Linked DNA regions of Homo sapiens: regions 1, 2, 4 and 5 are each linked to region 3. The links are contacts of gene promoters, found by promoter capture Hi-C in human tissues and cell types (Jung and others, 2019). All regions are on one chromosome and are shown on one strand. Each heading gives the region's core, a stretch centred on a gene start or on the middle of the fragment in contact. The rest is flanking DNA. Distances are from core to core; before and after follow the strand shown. Region 1 overlaps ENOX1 (ecto-NOX disulfide-thiol exchanger 1). Region 2 overlaps ENOX1 (ecto-NOX disulfide-thiol exchanger 1). Region 3 holds the start of ENOX1 (ecto-NOX disulfide-thiol exchanger 1). Region 4 overlaps ENOX1 (ecto-NOX disulfide-thiol exchanger 1). Region 5 has its middle 73 kb from the start of LINC00400.

The links. The method cuts DNA at HindIII sites, captures the fragments that hold promoters and counts their contacts. A contact is called where the count stands out against the background at its distance.
Region 1: a fragment that was not itself captured here is called in contact with the fragment with the promoter of ENOX1 in region 3 in 3 of the 25 tissues and cell types used here (dorsolateral prefrontal cortex, heart right ventricle and mesendoderm cells).
Region 2: a contact is called between a fragment that was not itself captured here and the fragment with the promoter of ENOX1 in region 3, in 4 of the 25 tissues and cell types used here (IMR-90 fibroblasts, aorta, mesenchymal stem cells and 1 more).
Region 4: a fragment that was not itself captured here is called in contact with the fragment with the promoter of ENOX1 in region 3 in 3 of the 25 tissues and cell types used here (dorsolateral prefrontal cortex, heart left ventricle and mesenchymal stem cells).
Region 5: a fragment that was not itself captured here is called in contact with the fragment with the promoter of ENOX1 in region 3 in 3 of the 25 tissues and cell types used here (IMR-90 fibroblasts, lymphoblastoid cells and mesenchymal stem cells).

What each region holds. Positions count from the first base shown.
Region 1 is chr13:43,233,016-43,236,992 of GRCh38, forward strand. ENOX1 (ecto-NOX disulfide-thiol exchanger 1) reads right to left here. Exons shown (of 17, transcript NM_001347969.2): 15 at 3,621-3,723. Among named protein-coding and RNA genes, the nearest start is that of LINC00400, 120 kb to the left of the region's middle. The HindIII fragment of the contact is 4,042 bases long and covers 1-3,786 here.
Region 2 is chr13:43,262,915-43,266,795 of GRCh38, forward strand. ENOX1 (ecto-NOX disulfide-thiol exchanger 1) reads right to left here. Exons shown (of 17, transcript NM_001347969.2): 14 at 2,484-2,540. Among named protein-coding and RNA genes, the nearest start is that of LINC00400, 150 kb to the left of the region's middle. The HindIII fragment of the contact is 6,675 bases long and covers 1-3,881 here.
Region 3 is chr13:43,785,427-43,789,505 of GRCh38, forward strand. ENOX1 (ecto-NOX disulfide-thiol exchanger 1) reads right to left here and starts at 1,546. Exons shown (of 17, transcript NM_001347969.2): 1 at 1,226-1,546. The HindIII fragment of the contact is 9,406 bases long and covers 1-4,079 here.
Region 4 is chr13:43,211,325-43,215,218 of GRCh38, forward strand. ENOX1 (ecto-NOX disulfide-thiol exchanger 1) reads right to left here. Exons shown (of 17, transcript NM_001347969.2): 17 at 1,806-2,797. The coding sequence ends at 2,666. Among named protein-coding and RNA genes, the nearest start is that of LINC00400, 100 kb to the left of the region's middle. The HindIII fragment of the contact is 4,030 bases long and covers 69-3,894 here.
Region 5 is chr13:43,184,386-43,188,176 of GRCh38, forward strand. No RefSeq gene overlaps it. Among named protein-coding and RNA genes, the nearest start is that of LINC00400, 73 kb to the left of the region's middle. The HindIII fragment of the contact is 4,181 bases long and covers 231-3,791 here.

The DNA of each region.
Region 1 (3,977 bases), core at 516-3,015, 550 kb before region 3:
CAAATCAAAAGTAATGACTCATTCTATCCCAAACAACTTCAGTGTATGCCAATCCAACATGCAGGCCATATGTGAAATAAACTAGTTCTGGCATAGACATTGAGCAATGTCAAGCTGACCTTATGTGTGGTTACTATAGCATTATGAAACAAAATGCTACCCTGCAATGCCCCCATAAAAACAGAATTCTCTAAGGTCCAATTATATGTCAACCTGTCTCCACAAAAATTGATTACAAAATGAATAACCCAGAAATCACAAAAATAAAGTATTTTCCAGGGGCCTGTCTTCTTTAGTTGAATTGGAAGACCCATTAATTGTCAAGAAGAAAGTCCATCAGAATGGTCGAACTCTAATAATACTCAGGATCCAGATCTGCAAAATTCCAAATTATGTCAATGAAATCCCACGGATCCTCTCTAATAAATATCAACTTTATGCCTTGAAATAAAGACTCTAGTTTTATACAATAGTCATAAGAATGTCTGGGCAGAATACACCCTTTTGCCCAGATAAATCAGTGTCACAAATAATTATATGTAACTAGAATTGCTCATTGTTTAGGAAGTTCTAGCCTCAGTTTTATTCTTTCTGTAGATGGAATCCATTTGAAGAGCTTTTTTCTCACTCCCTTTCTCTTCCAGGGAATGCTTTCTGCCAGTGTGCGTTTCTTATATAACATTTATGTGCCCCAAGAGGGCACTGATCATCTGACTATATTGGCATACAGCATACACTATAAGCATGCAGATATGATGAAGATTTTGCCAATTAATGTTTCCAAGTTGTGGGAGATTTTCTGCTGTGTCCTTGGCCTTCTAGGCTGGCCTAGAGCATGACTTTTGTGTCCTCTCTACTGACTTAATTATTCCAAGGGAAGATTTCAGGGGGAATTGCAAAGAGTATTTATGACTGCTCCAGATGTACCAGAAGGCCAGAGGGCTCCTAGAATCATTCAGTGCATGAGAATTCTTCAGAAAAGTGTAGCCCCAGCACCAGGAAATCCTTTTTCTCTATTCTGATCCAGAGCAGTTTTGTCCCTACCACAGTCTGTATCTAGATTCCAGAAGCTTCAGGGGAGCTCTTTATGGACGCAAGATTCAGGTATCTACAAAGTATGAATGACCAAACTCAATGAGTAGATAGGATCATTTAGTGGCAGGCAGAAACTGCAGCTTTTGGCAGGATCCATTTTGCTGGTCTTGGAAACTCTTTCCCATTGTGGCATTCTTTTGGAGGATTATCCTCTTTTGGAGGATTATACAAAAGAGTAGAAGTATATAGATGTTTTGGAAGTGGGTTTGGCAAGGAAATCACATCTGTTGCCAAACTGTCATTAAGAATAATAAAATAAAATATTGAGAAAGGTAGCAAGGTAATGGATAACTGAAGGGAAAGTTAAACTCCTAAGTTTATTTTAATCACTTAAGTCTCTGGCCTCCCTTCTACCTAAATGTTCTCATATATTGATTCAAAATAAGTGTCACCCCCTGTTTCTCTTTTGCTCTACTCCTAACTTCAAATGCTAATATTAGTAAACTAGTTCAAAAGACCAACAGTGAGGGGAAAAGTCTTGGAAAATTTAGAATTGGTTGTATATGCTTTTTATTGGAGATCCTGACTAATATTTTTCTTTCTAACACACTTGATTTAACTAATTTTATATAGTTTTTTGTGATACCAAAGACATCAGCAGGCATAGCATGTTATAAATGTAATCTTCCTACCTACTCCCATTAATGTACTGCATATAAAGCACATCATTTAAAAATATTTGAAGTAGCCAACTGAAAAAAGTACATGTATGTGTATACATATATAAATAAAACCTAATAACTACTTAGAAAACATTTTAAATGAACTGTGTTCTCCAATTAAAACATAAAAGAAGCAGCTATCTCTAGTGAAAGGAAGGAAATAAAAAAATAGAGACTGGTTCCCATTTTTTTAACCTTCAAGTGGACAGAATTCTTCCTACTTAAAGAGGGAAAAGTTTACTGCAGATCATTAATTGCTTTGTTCATACCCTAAAAGCATTATAGGGAAAAATCACACCTTGGTCACACTGAGTGACAGAGAAACAGTTGTCAGACTTGGACATGTTTTCCAATAGAAGAAAAATCCAGTTACCAACTACATATGGGTTCGTTTTGGGTTCCTGGAACTGATAGCACATCAGCATGTCTTCTGAGACTCATGCATGGCATGTTATTACAGCTGTATATCATCAGAGCAAAAAAAAAATAATTGGTTTTCCTGGGAGTATCTCTAAGTTGATGTCATATTCAATAACCCTGTAGTTGAAAAATCTATATATGATGGATGGACTCTGGACTGTCTTTTGAATTTAATTCCTCATGTGCCAGCTTCTCTAGGTCCTGTTGTACCTGTCATTTTTAGGTGAGCACATGCAGTATTTACAAAATGCACCCAGGGACCAGGCGCGGTGGCTCATGCCTGTAATCCCAGCACTTTGAGAGGCCAAGGCAGGTGGATCACCTGAGGTCAGGAGTTTGAGACCAGCCTGGCCAACATGGCAAAACCCCATCTCTACTAAAAATACAAAATTAGCTGGGCGTGGTGGTGTGCACCTGTAATCCCAGCCACTAGAGAGGCTGAGGCAGGAGAATCACTTGAACCCGGCAGAAGGAGGTTGCAGTGAGCCGAGATTGTGCCATTGCACTCCAGCCTGGGCAACAGAGTGAGACCCTGTCTCAAAAAAAAAAAAAAAAAAATGCAACCAGGCACTATTTCTGCCAGATAATGAACTGCTGAAGAACAGTTTGTCTTGCATGTACATTGGCCTCATTCTTCAGTCTTAACCATGCCACCATGGAGCCAGTCTCACCTGGCAACCCCACACTGGGGTCAGTGCCAAGGTGCAGCTTGAATCAGTTCTGTGCATCACAGCATGAGGGTGGTGGCTTCCCTTCCTCTGAATTTGAGGGCTTCAAAGACAGCCTTAAACATACAGGCATCTAAGATGGGCTTCCATGCACACTGCCGGCACATCCTCATCAAGAATTCTTCCTCGTGAAAATAAGTAAGACATCTGGATCCACTGAGGATGCTTCTTTTGTTCATCCTGGACAAAAGGATCCATACTTGGACAGGGAAGCCTGAAGCCGATTGTCCTGGATTAGCCTAGCATCAGTACCCTGCATGGCCCTATTTGTCAGCATTGCAGGTCTAGCCTTGGGAGTGACTTTAGGATGTGGCCTCTGCTAAGGGGCTTAGAGTTTAATCTCAGGGTTCAAAGCTGCTCTTGAGCCTGGGGATATGGCTTGGTTTGGAACTAGATGCAACCTGGCCTCCAGTTGGAAGTGACATGCCCAAGCTTTGAAATTCAGATTTGTAACATGTGAGATGCAACTTAGCGTATTCTTGAACTCAGTTTCATGTCTGACAATCAGTTAATATATACAGTTACAGAAAGGCAAAACCCCCATTAGTTTGTATGCCACTAATTTGAAATGTATGTAATATAATCTTGATGAAATTAATCTCACCTTTTACCAGAAGGCAATGCTGTTTAAATTAATAAGTTAATAACTAAAATATTAAGTTAATTACCTAATAATTATTTAAGAGAACAGATGAAGAAAACAGAATTTCCTTACCTATTAGCAGAGCTTCTTTCTCTGATTTTAAGCCTTGGCTTCTTTTCTCAATATTGTTCTCTCGGTCTTGGTTGACTAATGCAACTGTCAACACATTGATTTCCTATAAAGTTAAAAGCCAAAAACCATATATGGGTTTATGTAGATTCTGTGCATGTCAATAAAAAACACCAGATCTCTTAAACTCTATAAATAAGGTCATCACTTCTATTTATAACTAAAGATCAAATCTTTTATACAATTGATCTATTTGCCCAAGAGTAGAAAAGTAATTATGTAAAGTTAGGCTCCTAGGTACTGCTCCCCGCATACCAAGTAATTCTCTGCACAAGTGGCAAATTTGGCACAAGTTATCTT
Region 2 (3,881 bases), core at 541-3,040, 520 kb before region 3:
ATGGCTACTCAGTGATCAAAATGGATTCAAACCCTCTCAGTCGGGTCTGAAGGCCTCGTCTCTTTTGACCACCACAAGGCTGGTGGCAACTTCAGATGAGACGTAGACTTCATTTCAGACATTTAAGAATAGATTTGCAAAATATTGCCAGTGCTCCTAATGTGAGGGCAAAATAATTGATGATTAATTCTTTTCTTTCACATACCCTAGTGGAGGTACTGGGGAAACTTCCAAAAGGAGACAAAGTTCAGACAGAAAAGAGGGTGAGTAAGTAATCCACCACCTGGGAAACCCCTGATAAAACAGGCAGTGATTGTAAAGATTAGCCCAGCCCTCTGCCTAGGGAGGGAGGTGGCCACCCGCAGTGACTGGCAAGGACTGTCAGGTTCTGTTACTTCACAAATATCTCCCCCACCCCCTAGGTCAAGGTGCTGCTCTTCCTTCCTACTGAGCCAGAACCCCATCTCTCAACAGTCATTGCTTTGAGTTGATAACAAAGCCTACGTCATAGACTCTAGACAGGTATCTTAAAAAAGCTGAAAACTTTCCTGTAGAAGGGACAAAGACCTCGAAGATTATCTCACTTTACTTTTTCCATTGAATAATAAGTGACTTTTAAAATTTTTCAAAAAGGGCCTATGGGCTAGATACTGTGTTAGGCCTGTCTATACATGTATCATCTAATTCAATCAGCAGATCAATTTATAATCAAAACATCTTAGCTAGAACCTCACAATTACAAGTACTTCCACATACATTCTCTCATTTGCTTCTCACAATAAGCCTTAAGGAAGGCAAGGTAGGAGTTATCCCCATTTTACAAACCAGGAAACTGAGGCCTACTGCCACTTTGTCTGGCTTATTGGAACAGACAGCAGCTTCCCTGGAAGCCACAGAGGGACTGGCTGTGTGTGGAGTGGATATGAAGGTTTTGGTTGAGAATGTGGCAGCCTTGTGTCCCTGGAAGACAGGGTGCTGAAGAAGGGTTTTAGGGTAAGGATGAGGGTCATGAATATGAGAGTGGAAAGATAAACTATGTCTCACAACATTGCCTATGGGGAGCTCTGTATGAATGGCTTCCTCCTTTGGCTTTCTACTTTCTCAATCCTATTCACTCCCCAAAACCAAACCCAAGTCCCACAGATCCAGGAAACCTTTCTTGATTATCTAGCACAAAGAAACCATACGTGTAACACCTTAAGGTTTTCCCAGGCCTTAGCTCATTACAATATTATGACATGCTTTTGAGATAGGCTTTGCCATTCTTTTTACAAGTGAGAAAAAGGAAGCTCAGAGAGGTTAAGTAACTTGTCAGGCTGATACATTTAATAAGCAGCAAAGTCTGGATTTCAAACTACATCACATCATAGCTGCCTCAACTTCCTGTACACTTATCATGTCCTGTATCTTGTCATGTGTTTCTTAATTCCTTAACTCAGTTGTAAGTTCCCCGAGGGCAGACAACTAGTCTTATATTTCTTTGTAACCCCCATTTCTGTTCCCCTAGAACTTAGCAGAGTCCTATGAGCACACAAGTCCTCAATAAACATCATATGTTAAATATCTGCTGGGTAGGAACAATAATGATTAAGTGGGATTTTTTTGATACTCTGAATATTAGGCTCTCTGTTGTATATAATTAAAACAAGAGTGAACAAGAAATATATAATTTCTCCTAGCTCTAGTGTAATCAGGCATTCATTATCATGTCTAATTCTGTGTTCAGTGAAAAGAACTGCTTAGTAAGCATTTTCTTTGATGAGGATAATCAAATACAGATATCAGAGAGATTTAAAAAAGACAAAATCATCAAACATATGGAGAGGCAATGATCTACAGGGTATAATATTCCATCTGAGACTAAAGAACTTTCAAGGCAAAAAGAACACTTGTTTACTTTTTGACAATTGGATATTCAAGGAACACTAAGAGAGGAAGTCACGGTGTAACTGGGATCTTGTACCATCACACATTATTCTTTATCAAGAAGATGGATGCACTGTGCTACTGTTCTGGGTGAGGAACAGAGAAGGAGTACATTTCAAGGGCTATTCTGAGAGAAGGGGTTTTCTCTGAGACCTTTTCAGCATGTCAGTCATTTAGGTACCACCTTCGCTGGCAGGCAAACTTAATGAATATACATGCAATGCGCAACTGATTACCCTGTCGGGTCTCTTGCTATTTCCCTCCCAGTATATCATCAGTTATAGTTTTGGAAATACAAAGAGCTCAAACAGACTCACTGAAATTAGAATTTTTGATGGTGGGGATTAGCTCACATACTTCTAAATTGACATTTGATAAACTAGGCTGACAATAGCAGTGCCTGTCAATCACATTTTCTTGCCAAACCCATATATTAATCTTAAGCTGCTGACAGGCAGAGCTTCTGATTTCCTTTATGTGGTAGATAAAGTGCTACATCCCCATGTGTTCAACCAACGTCAAGCAAGAAGAACAAATACCAGGTTTGTGGTACCTACATTTGAATCCTCATGGCTGTGGCCATTGGTCTCGACCAATTCCTTGGTACCTTTTAACTGCAAATTTTAAGGAAAAACAACACAAAACAAAAAAATGAATAAGCAAGCAAATCTCTTAAGTATATCATCTTGTTAACTGATTTATCTGAGGTTGCATTTTATAAAACTTCCAATGAGATAAAACAGATGGAGCACATATTTCTAATGAGCCTTATTGGAGCCAGTTTGAGACCAATATTTTATGAAGTTTGATGCCTGGCAAAAGAATAAATGGGTCTTGGTCATTATTTTTTAAATAATAAGATTAGAAAGCAGTTCCATAGGCATAAAATGTATAAAATTGGTTCTTAAGAATAATAAATGATTTCATTTCCTAGTTGGATTGCTATTAATTTAAACCCTGCAGTGTTTGCAAGTTGCCACCAGCAAAATGATGTTATATTAACGATTATTCGTGAATGATGCATTTTCAGCTGCTTTTAACATGCTACTGTGCTACCAGACAGGTCCTCCTTGAGAATATATTTGAATGACTGACATCTCTGGAGGACTAAAGACGGTTGCTTCTTTGGTAGAGAAAGAGTTTGGATGACATCTCCTTGGCCGCTGAGGCATTAGAAGAAATTATATTTCTCTAATGAGATTTTTAGCAGTGAACATTTGAAAACATTTCTCTTTCTCAGAGGCTTAGGAGTAATCAGTTATAAGGAGGTTTCAGGAAACCTTTAATTGTCATTTTATCCTATCCTGACGCAAAACAGACATTTAGAATCAGACGGCAAAGGAAGAGGGTGAGCTGGCTTGCAACTGTTTTGCCAGTATTTTTTCCTGACTTAGGAAAGCAGCATCTCCTCCATTATCTTTTTTATACCTAATACAAAGTATTCATGGTAGGAAAAAATACTTAAGATTTGAAAGAAAATCAATGCACATATACCACCAATGTGTTTGATTCATAACATTGGTTCCTTCTGGCTACTTGTGCATATTAAAATGAAAGCTTCTTTAGTTTTTTAAGGCCAGTCTTAAACTCCCAGCAAAAAAAAGCCCTACCCGCTCCATGCCAAAGAAGGGGTTTTGCCAAAGGAATGGTAACATGAAGAAATTGAGGATCAGGTAGTTGATTATGGACCAAAGGCTCTTTGGCTCATTTCCATATCACTCCCACTTAAGAAAAAAGTCTGCCCACTGTTCTCTAGGGCAACATCATTGATGGTTCTACACACAACAGACACAGGGGAGCATGGGCGATGTATGGCATATATGACAAGGCAGAGGTGTGCCACAATAATAGGAATACTGTCTATTATCACAGGACACAAAAGGACTTTTTAAAATCCCCTCACTCTTTTCCTAGCTGAGGGTTTCTTATTGTAGGTATCCCTCATCTTCATCAAC
Region 3 (4,079 bases), core at 296-2,795:
TCAAATCTGCAGCCCAGTTGGCCAGGAACCTTTCCATACGCACGTATTTCCTGCATTCTCCTGGGTCTGCTTTTAAAAATTGCTACCACCAAACAAATGCAATCTTAACAAAATTGGGATTACAAAGCCAGTTTTTTTCATGTAATGTTACAGCAGTGAAAGATTGAGGGAGAGAAAAGGAGAGAAGCAGGAGTGTATCTGGGTGAAGAAGCGTGGCTCAGTGGCTATACAGTGAGACGCAGAGATTCCACAGAGCTGGGCTTGCCCACCTGTCGACCCCACTTTCCCCATGTGCTCGCCGCGGGATGACAACCACAACACTCCAGAACCACCCCCCTTCCGAAAGAGGGCGGGGTTACGCCTTCAGCCAATCAGGACCCGCGAGCCCCGGGTGTCCAACCTATGGGGTGGCTGTGGCCGTGCAGGGGGAGGACGTGGGGTGGTCTGGGAGGGGCCGCGTCCGTGGGAGGCTCGCACGTGTCGGGTCCGGAGAGGCGGGGAGGCGGCCGGCGTCCAGCGGCCGAGGCGCGGGCTCTGCACCCTGGCAGCGGCCGAGTCCGGCTGCCCCAGTGCCTCCTTTACCTCGCGTTGGGCCAGGCAGGGCGCGCTCCCGCCGACGAAGACCTGTCCAAGGTGTCCGAGCTCCCCGCGAGAGGGGACAGTCACGAATAACAACAGTACCCAGCGCAGACTAGGCGGGGAGGAAAGTTTCCGGCCCGCAGCAGAGCGGAGTCCGCCAAGGCTGGAGGAAAAGGGATGCAGAGCGGGAGGGTGAAAACCTGAAAGAAGAGGGCAGCGGGAACACTGTGTGGGCAGGAACGGGTCCCGGGGGCGACGCCCGCAGGGGGAGACGGGTGCGGGGTGCGCTGTCCAAGGTGCAGGGGAGGTGACTGGCGCGCGGCGGGCGCGGAGCCCGGAGCTGACACTGGCTGGCGGGCGGAGGGGAGAGCGGGGAACAGCTGTCTGGGGCGCTGGGCACCCCCGGGCGCGTAAAAGTGAGGGAGCTTGAGACGGGGCACGGCGGGGAAGGGCGTGGGGGCTGCACCGAAGCCCCCACGCGTCCACGCACCCCTCCTCACCAGCCTCACCTCTAGCTCCACTCCCCTCCCCCCTCGCCCACTCCCCTCTCAGTCTAGATCCAGGTGCCGTGGCGGGGGTGAGACCAGAGGACCCCGGCTCGGAGCCCGGACGCCCCAGGGAGGCTGCGGGCCCCGGAGCTGCTTACCTGGGGCCGCCGTATGGGGAGCGGAGGCAACCCGCTGCGCGGAGTGGGGCGCCGGGCGCGGCGCGGCTCCTCCTAGCCTCGGCGTCCTCCTCCTCCTTTGCTTCTCCCGGACTCTGTCCCGGGCACGGAGCTGGGAGACGCGGCCGGGCTGCAGTCGCCGTTCCCTCTGCTGCCGCCGCCGCTGCAGCAGACAGAGGACGCCCCGTGGCGGCTGGAAGCCTGTGTGAGTAGCGGCGCCCGGGAGAGCGGGGATCTGCTGAGGGGCGCTGGAGACTCCGCGGCTGGAGGCGCGCGGGCGTGCGCACGCGCGCCTGCGAGTGTGAGTGTATGGGTGCGCGCGCGCCCACGGGGTGGGGGAGTCGCGAGGGGAGGGGGAGAGAGGCCGAGAGATGCTCGTAGGGACCGAGGCAAAATTCTACGACCCCGGAAATCCGTAAACGCGGGGAAGGAGGATCGAACGCGTGTCTCGCTTGGAGAAGCTGCCCACGGGGCGGCAGCAGAGGAGGAGGGGAAGTCAGCGAGGCGCGCTAGGGCTCCGGATCCCAGCCCGGCAGAGCCGAGCGGAGCGCGCAGCCACCGATGCAGCAGAGGCGGCGCCCGCAGCCCACGGTCGCGCTGCCCCCTCTCGGGAGGGGCCGAGGCCGCTCGCTCCCGCCACCGCCGCCGCGGTCGGGACTGCTCTACTGGGAGCGGGGGAACCGAGAGAGGGACCGCACGGTTGCTACGGCGACCTTGGAGGGGCCGGGCCCGCTGAAGGGCCAAGAGAAGAACCCGGGCGCACGTGGCCGACTCCAGGCTGGAGCGGGCGTGTTACAGGATTGTGGGCTTGGGGTAGACGGTGGAATTGGGCCGCGTGGCCTGGGCAGATGATGCGGGGTGTGCGGCCCAGAGTGGCTCGGCCGGGGTGCGGTCAGCATTCAGGTTGGTAAGGGTGAGGGGATCCTAACCCCAGGTGACATGTTGCCTTTTTTTCCTCCTTGGAGGCTACTTTTTCTCAAAGTTACCCACTTCCCAGGTAAGAATGCCGGCCTCCTCTTTGTTAGGATTCAACTTAGCTGTGCAGGCATCTAAGCAGTGCCTCCTTAGAGTCAGGCTCGTCCAAGAACCGCTCCCACCACCTCCCCACACACACCCACATCCCCCGATCCTCCATCCCAACTACATTGTAATACTTCAGAAATAAATGTTTAAAGCACATTTACATTCTCTGCCTCTTAACAGATATATTGTCTTAGTAGTATACTTTTCCTTGCTTATTTTAAATTCTGAGTGGGATTTTATTCACACAAGCATTTCTTCAAGGGTCGTAAGGTCTGGGTAATACTTGAAATACCCTTTCTGGCAGGAATCCTCAATGCAGGGATTGTGTTTTGCACACTTTTGCATGCCTTCCAGTGCTTAGCATAGTACTCTGTACTTTGTGAGTTCCCTGTAAATGTTGAATGAATGACATTGTTTTCTAGCTTCACGTAACCTGAAGGCAAAGACTTGGATGCTGGGAAAGTCATTACCACCCCACTAGGCTTGCCTGATTTTAACTTATGCCATTTCCTTGTGTGTGGCTATTTTTCCCCCTGGCGGTCAGAACCCCAATGCAAAGAAAGAAAATAATACTTATCCATTGTGCACCCTTAACAAAGGATGCATGTAGAAGCACTCTGCAGGGACCCCAGTGGGATGCCCTGGGTGTGAGGGGGCCAAAGCTCAGAACCTAACCTCTCAAAATGTGAAAGTCAGTGTTCACCAGCAGTTTATACTGTCCCTTCTAGAGCAGAAGGATGGGGAAAACAGTTTTAAGAGAAATACACTTTTGTTTTTTGTTTTTTGAGACGGAACCTCGCTCTGTCACCCAGGCTGGAGTGCAGTGGCGCGATCTCGGCTCACTGCAACCTCTGCCTCCCGGGTTCAAGCGAATTCTCCTGCCTCAGCCTCCTAGTAGCTAGGATTACAGGCGCCGGCCACCACGCTCGGCTAATTTTTTTTTTTTTTTTTTTTTTTTTTTTTTTTTAGTTTTTAGTTTTTAGTAGAGACACAGTTTCACCATGTTTTCCAGACTGGTCTCCAACTCCTGACCTCAAGTGATCCGCCTGCCTCGGCCTCCCAAAGTGCTGGGATTACAGGCATGAGCCACCGCTCCAGGCCAGAAATACACATTTCTAATAGCTTATCAGGTACGCATTTTTCTCCTGTAAAGAGTAGTGTTCATGGACACTGACCAATACATGCAGGGTCACCCCAGACTGCTAATTCTGCTGTCTGGTGTAGCACCAAGTCCACATCCTTCGACCTCGGTATTTCTACAATCATCGTCTTAGAAGCAGAAGTCTTCAATTTTGCATTTCATGCTAAATTTCAATTCCTTTGAACTCAGGCCCGCCTATGAGCTGCTTCTCTCTCCACTCATGATACCACAGCTGTGAAATATAACTGAAATAAAGTGAAAATTAAAATGGATTTATTTGGGTACCGTGTGTTCTTTAGTGGGGGTCCCTTTAACTGATTTATCTACCTTCACTCAATTGACAATCTTCTTAGAAGACATTTGTTGTGATATTGGAGCTTTTTTATTAGGTTGAAAGCTTACTTAAATTTCTCACTTGAAAGGAAGCTCTAAAACTTGCAAAAGAAGCAGAAAAACTCTGATACCGAAAATGGACCCTTGACAGCCAACCTATAGAATGGGTATGAGTCAGAATTTTCCAAAACAATTTTAAAGCTTCATTTTCCTTAGAAAGTTGCTTTTAGGGTTTTGTTGGGCTCAGAAACTAATACCGGAAAATATGGCACTTTGACATGCTGGACTGAAGAAGCAGCCTCAAAGTCTCTCTGACCCTCTCTCTGCCTCCTGTCTCTC
Region 4 (3,894 bases), core at 834-3,333, 570 kb before region 3:
GTATAAATAAAAAATTTACAGCCAAAACAGATTTTTCTAGTGCAGCAGCTTATCTCCAGCAATGACTCTAATGTTTTTGGAAGCTGAATTAACCATTTCACTCCCCCAAGTTGCCCCGTAGGGCTCATATCCACGTGTTTGGAAATGATATCTTCTTGTCAGATCTAATATGAGGTCCCTCAGCTTTGTGTGAGCACAGAGCTCAGAGTTGGGGGTTTACCCTGTGCAGGATGTCTTTCTGCTAATGTGACTGCCAGTAATACTTGAAAGTATCAATGCATGTTTGAGGATATCCACCATGCTTTCCATTAGAAATAGCACAGGCTGTGGTACCTTCCCCTGTATCCTTACTAGACTTCATGACTTTATAGAACTAGCCACTTTACTGAATTCTTTTTTCCTTGTTGTTTTTCACGTGAACTGCTTAGGTTTTCTATTTTACAATACTAGCATCATCTGTAAATGATGTCTTCTCCTTTCTGACTGTTGTGTCTTTATTTGTGTCTCTTGATTTGGATATAAATCTGTCAGGATGATGGTGGTAGCAGGCATGGACTGATGGTAAGGGAAGGTGTGTAGGGTTTAATATGATATGGACATATAGTTTGAATGCCATAGCACCTGTCATATCTTTCTTGTTACCAGAATCACATCATATAGAAATTTTTGGGAAAATGCCTTTTTCTTTTTTCTTTTCTTTCTTTCTTTTTTTTTTTTTTTTAAGACGGAGTCTTGGCTCTGTCACCCAGGCTGGAGTGCAGTGGCGCAATCTCAGTTCACTGCAACCTCCACCTCCTGGATTCAAGTGATTCTCCTGCCCTAGTAGCTGGGACTACAGGTGCCTGCCACCACGCCCAGCTACTTTTTTTTTTTTTTTGTATTTTTAATAGAGATGGGGTTTCACCATGCTGGCCAGGCTGGTCTCGAACTCCTGACCTCAAGTGATCTGCCCGCCTCGACCTCCCAAAGTGCTGGGATTACAGGCATGAGCCACCGCGCTGGGCCGAAAATGTCTTTTTCACACTGAACTCTGAGCACATTAAGGAGAGGGTCTTTTCTTACTTACCTTTATATTCATAGTGTTAGCCCTGAGCCTGAACAAAACACTTGTGTAGATATTTATGGGAGGTATGAGTAAATATCTTAATTTATTAGAGATCAGTAAAGGTACTTATCAATAAAGGTATCAATAAAGGACAAAAAGTCCAATAAGAAATTATGAATATCTTTTCATAATATCAGAGAACATTAACTGTTTAGCTGTCTTCCTAAAAAATGTTTCAATTACAATTAAGGATGCTTGTCTTTTTTGTGATTCTTATGTAGGATAGCAGGAAGGGGACAAAATTTTAAGTCATATCCCATTTGTTATTAAAATAAAGAGGGGAAGCCCAAATTCTATCTAAATTGTTGGTCCAAGTGTGGATCCCTTAATTTCCTTTCTAATGTGTTTTCCAGTAAACATACAGATACATAAATGCAAGAGTTAATAAGATTAATGGGCTACTTTGTATCTGCCCAGGAGGACACAAAACAAGGTAAAATTTATTATTTGTGGATGCTATGTCATACTATTTTTAAAAATCTACTCTAACACTGTATATTAATGCTGTATAATCTCCTTTCTTGGTAATTTCCACTCCACAATTTTTATATATTCCTATTTGAAATAATGTTTTATCTCTTAATGTCACTCATTTATTTTATCATTTTTAAACAATAGGATATGAGATGGGACTGAATAATGAGAAAAAGATTTCTTAAGGGAGAAATAAAATATATCAAAGAATAATTTGTAAAACCAATATGGTAGAAGTCATATTTATTGAAAAAAATTAATATCTTTGCTATAAAATTTGTAACAGGAATATTTACTGAATGTTTATTTTGATGCATAAACCTGAATGTTACATACCAAGTACAAGACAATAACACTAGTTTTTCCTTTATTTACACTTTATGAAAACTGTTATGCAGTCCATGTTAAAAGAACTTATGATGGAGAATTGTTACATTAGAAAAATAATATTCTTGATAAAGCATTCTCAATGTGTCCAATCATATTTTCTGCCTCTTCAATAAGGCAAAAGTCCCTGGAACAGCATATAACTTAATTTACAAAATACAATAACTGTTTAGACACATATTCAAGTTTTCTTTTGGTATGCTTTTCCCTCACTGTAAAACTTTTTCTTTTTTCTTTTTTTCTTTTTCTTTTTCTTTTTTTTTTTTTTTTTTTTTTTACTAAAACAGAAAGACTTTCAGGAAAATGTCATTTAATGATTTCAGCTATACATTACATATACAACTCTGTAGCCTAGCAACAATCATTGCTACACCATCATTAACTTTAAATATTTTGCTTGGTGAGCTATTCTCAAATGTAGCACATTTTAAGATTTTGCCATCATTATGACTGTGGAATCATTGTTTGGTTTTCATAGGAAACAGATCTGTCACAGTATGAAGCTTTGTTTATTTTAAGAAACTGGTACACAATTACATTTCCACTTACAAGAGAACGCCACAGATATAACTAAAGGCAGGCTTCGATGGCTCCACAAAGGTTGCGTGCTGGACCAACCCCACACCTCCTGCTTCCCCGTCGCACCGCCCTGGCCAGGTTCACATGGTTTCATTTCCAGAGATGCTTTGCTCTTCGCAGTTAGGTAGTTTTAATTCCTTCAAAGGCACACAGCTTCCATCTTTTTTCCAGCGTGGCTCCCACACCCGTGAATTCCTGTTTGAACATGCGTGGCAGCCTCATCAAAAGCATTTCTATTTCATTTGCAGATATCTGTTAGAAAGGAAGGAAAGTCACTTTGGGGAAAGGAACTCATCTTAAAGGAGGAATGGATTGGGGAAGGATGAGCTTTCCCAGTGATATGAACAGCATTTAGTTTTCTACTGGGCTGTCAGGGGGATGTCCTTATAGAAGGAACATTCAGAAGTACTGAATGTGATTATCCCACCTCCCGAGCAGCTGGCGGGGTGGGGCGTGGGTTGGCTGGGCGGAAAGTGCCAAGTTCACCCTTCATATGGATGGCTACCTTACTGGCAGCACCATTCCTGAACAGCCCTCCCCTGATATAAAAGGAGATGGGGAGGGAATTTAAGAGGGCTCCCAGCAAATCCATCACCACTCCTGGAAAGCTACTAGTGGCTTCATCCTCATCTATGAAGGACAGCAATTTTCTTTAATGCTGCCAGGAGCAGAAGACATTCGGGTGGATTTCTTGCCACCCAAATTTCTTTCTCTTCCTTAATTTTCACATAGACCAGAGACCATAAAGCTTTTGGAATGGAATCTAAACTCCAAAACCTACAACAATACAAGTCTTGATATCTAGTCATAAAATTCAGGTATATTTTTTAATGCAACTTTTTTCTTCTCCATATTTTTATTTGATGAATTTTTACACCAATAATTCATTTTAAAGAACAAATCAGCCATAATCCCTCTGCTCTAGCACAGTGATTGCTTTTGTTGTCCTGTGTTAGCATGCCAATCCATGTGTATGCATGTGGATTTTATACAGCAGGGCGGCCAATTTGGGGTCTGATATTCTGTTTGAATATCCCCAAAATTTGGGGTCTGATACTCTGTTTGAATCCTGTATCTTCATTCTCACAAGTTAAATGACCCTTACAGAGATAATTAGTCTCTTTAAGCCTCAGCAAATGGAAATAACATTTAATAAGGATAGCATGAAAATTACTGGCTTACCACAGATATGGGCACATAGAAATGTTCATTGAATCAGAGCTATTACACTTTTTCATGGTGTAATCACTGTAGAGATATCATTTTAGAGTCTACACTTTCCATTTAACAATATTAGGATTCATTTAAAAGAGACACCAAATAGACCAAGAAGTCAAATCAACTGTTTA
Region 5 (3,791 bases), core at 1,071-3,570, 600 kb before region 3:
CTCACTGTAACCTCGAACTATTGGGCCCAAGTGTTCCTCCTGCCTCAGCCTCTCAAGTAGCTGGGACAAGAGGCGTGCACCTTGAACTGTACCTAATTGGCTTTTAAATCTATCCATTTGGAATCATGCTATGAGGATTTTTTTAAAACAGCTTTATTGAGACATTAATTCACACACCATACAATTCACCCATTTAAAGTGTATAATTCAGTGGCTTTTAGTATATTTACATGGTTGTGTATCCATCACCACATTTCTTTTTTACATTTAGAACATTATTAGAACATTTTTATTACCTGGAAAAGAAACCCTGACCTCTTAGTCATCACCACTTAACCTCCCATCATGCCCACCTCTGGGCAACCACTAGTCTGCTTTCTGTCTCTATAGATTTGCTTGTTTTTGACATTTTATATAAATGAAATCATGCAGTATGTGGTATTTTGTGGCTGGTTTCTTTCACTTAGCATAGTTTTCAAGGTGGATCCATGTTGTACCATGTAGCAGTCTTCATTTGTTTTTATTTCTGAATAACAATGTATACATGTACCATATTTTATTTATTCATCTGTTGATGGATATTTATGTTGTTTCCATCTATTGAGTTTTATATTTCACTGATAGTTTTCAGCTTTAGAATGTAATTTGATTATTTTTTATATTTTCTGGTTCTAACTCTTGTCAGAACTTCTTGTTAATTTATTGAACATATCTAGCTGTGTCTTACAGCTACAGTATCTGGATTGTTTTTGTTGTCGCTGCTCTGTTTCTGTTTCTTTTTCTCTCTTTTTTTTCTCTTTAGCCTTGCTTTTTTGTATACCTATTTATTCTTTATTGAACTCTTCAGATATTTTTCATGAAAAATGGCAGAGATAATTTGTGGCTCTGGATTATGCTATCCCCTCCAGAGAGGATTTACTTTGTTTCTGGCAGGCATTTAGGCAAGGAAGTTGATGACCTTAATCCAATCAAGCTTGACTTAAGTGTGAGGTGTGGTCTGTTGCTGGTTCACCCACGCATTTTAGGCCTCCAATCCTGAAAGCCCAGGGTGCTTACCAGGGCCCCTTCTTCTTAGTGATTTCCAAGTTTTGACTGTTAAATCTGGAGCTGTTAAAAGCCCTTCTCTGTTTCTCAGACTCTTAGCTGCCACCTTGACTTTGAACATCAGTAACAGCTGTAAGTATCAACGTGACTCTGAATTGTGGGTTTACATTTTTTTGGTTTTCTCCTCTTCCATATCTTTGCCTCACAAGTCTTACTTTCTTGATAGGTCTCATGTCTTTAAAAATATTTTTAAAATATATATTATCCTGCTTCTCTGGTTATTCTCAGCCAGAAGGCTTCTTTGAAACTATCTAGTTGGCCGATGCTGGAAACAGAAGTCTACCCACGAATTTGTTAAGAATCATTTCTTTCAAGGATATGGTAAAGCAAGCATTCTTACACATGGCTGATTAGAGTATAATCTAGTTCACCTCTCTAAAAAGCAGTGTTTCAGTTAGCCCATGGCCTTAAACACATTATACCCTTTGACTCAGCCATTCTAATTCTGTGAGCAAATCAGAAATAAATTATTAGAGAGGCAGAAAATATATTTACATACAAGGATATTCACTAAAACTCTTAATAGAGAAAACTGGATGTCAACTAAATATTCAATGATAAGGATGATAATTATGGTACATCTATGAGATAGAATAGTCTGTGGTGATTCAAAATCATGTATTGAAAAATATTTATTGATATAGAAGAATAAGATATAAAGAGGAAAATGATACATACTTTTCATGTAGCATGATTCCAATTTTTAAAAAAGTTACATGTTTAGGGAAAATGCTGGAAAGATACAAACCAATTTTTAATGAACTTAATGTTAGATGGTGAGATTAAGGGTTTTTAAACATTTTCTTCTTTATATATTTTTGTATTTTCAAAGGTTTTTAATATTGAGTGTGTACTATTTTTATAATGAAGAAAAAGTCACAAAAAAACCCTAAACTCACTTTTAATCTGGCAGATTATATTCCATTCTTTTAATACAGACTTTAGCAAGCTAGAAATTCTTTACATTTTTAAAGTCTTAGAAATTAAGACAAAGACACTTGCAGAAAACCACATGGGATGTTGCTGGAGAGATGACAGTGAGCATCTTCATCATGCTCCAGGGAGCAGTTGGCTGCATGACTCTAGTTGTTGTTTCAATAGTTGACAGAGGTTTCAGCCTTTGTAGACTTGGTGGTCTTCAGACTCTTACTGATTGAAAAAATACTTCTCTACAAAAGTACAACAGATTTTGGAGTCTTTTTCATTGTGAAAGTCATATATCCAACCAGATTTTATTAGCTACAGTTTTTGTTTTCAAAACCTCTGGGTGTTATTAGGGAAATTCTCTTCTTGAAATTCAAAATTGATTTTCCAGCTGGACGCAGTGGCTCATGCCTGTAATCCCAGCACTTTGGGAAGCTGAGGCGGACGGATCACTTGAGGCCAAGAGTTTGAGACCAGCCTGGCTAACATGGTGAAATCCCATCTCTACCAAAACATTAGCTAGGCATGGAGGTGTGTGCCTGTGGTCCCAGCTACTTGGGAGGCGGAGGCAAGAGAATTGCTCGAACCTGGGAGGCGGAGGTTGCAGTGAGCCAAGATTGCGCTGCTGCACTCCAGCCTGGGTGACAAAGTGAGACTTTGTCTCCAAAAAGGAAAAAAAAAAACCAAAAAACAAAACGCTTCAAATCCATTTTCATAAGAACCAATTTTTCCCACTGTTCTTTACAGAACAGGTCATTTATGAAGGGATCTTATCTTGGAAGAGGGAGGGTAAGAAGAGACAGTTTGGTTATTTGACTGATTACATAGCAACTCCATATGGGATGTTTTATTTCACATTCTTGAGTTAATCCTTAACTAATTTCTCATATCTGACCTCTGTTTTCTTTGAAATGTTGGTGAACATGTCAAACATTCTTCCCACCCACCTCGACACTTTACTTTCTTCCCCAGCTTGGTTTCAGATAACTGGCAACCTTATGATGTTTATTGCTTCAGATATGGACAGTTTAGGAACTATCCAAAGTTTCTCATTGCTCATCTGTAATAATACTTTTCATGATGGCACTAGAATCCTAAATTCTGGTCTGATTCAGGAAGATGGTCTATTTTCATATTTAAATTGGCCTGAAAAAAGTAAGGCCTTGTTGATACAGGTAGGGGTCCACTACCCTGAAATGTTGCTCAAAAGCACATTTCAATTTTATTCAAAAGCTGCTTTGATGTGTATTCCCCCAAAGCACCTTAGCTGAAAATCAAATTTTATTTTAGAGCTTTGTACAGACCAATGTCTCTTTCTAGCTTCCTGTACACCAATAAAATTGTGTATTTCAATTTAACCTCAATCTGCCTGTGTTTAAAATATAAAGCTAAGGTTAAGGGCTTTCACTGCTAGCAACCCTACCTGGACATCTCTATTTCTAGATAAAACCTTTTACTGAGAACATTTTATTAGTCCTGCAGCTCAACGCTGCCATATATGCCAGCCTGTCCTATTAATCCTTAGCTACAAAAATATCAGAATCATTTATGAGCTAAAGTTTTTTTTTTTTTTTTAGCTTTTTAATTTTCTGAGCCTTTGTGGTATTATTTGGGTCAGTTTGGTTGCTGGGGCTCCACCTCTTCCCACCTGCCCCCAACCCAGTGTCTCTGAGTTGGGGAGAAGAGTCTCAGGACCATGGGGACCAAGAGGCTTTAGGGCTGACCACCTACTGTAACTGGCTGTCTCATGCTGGCCCCTTGGC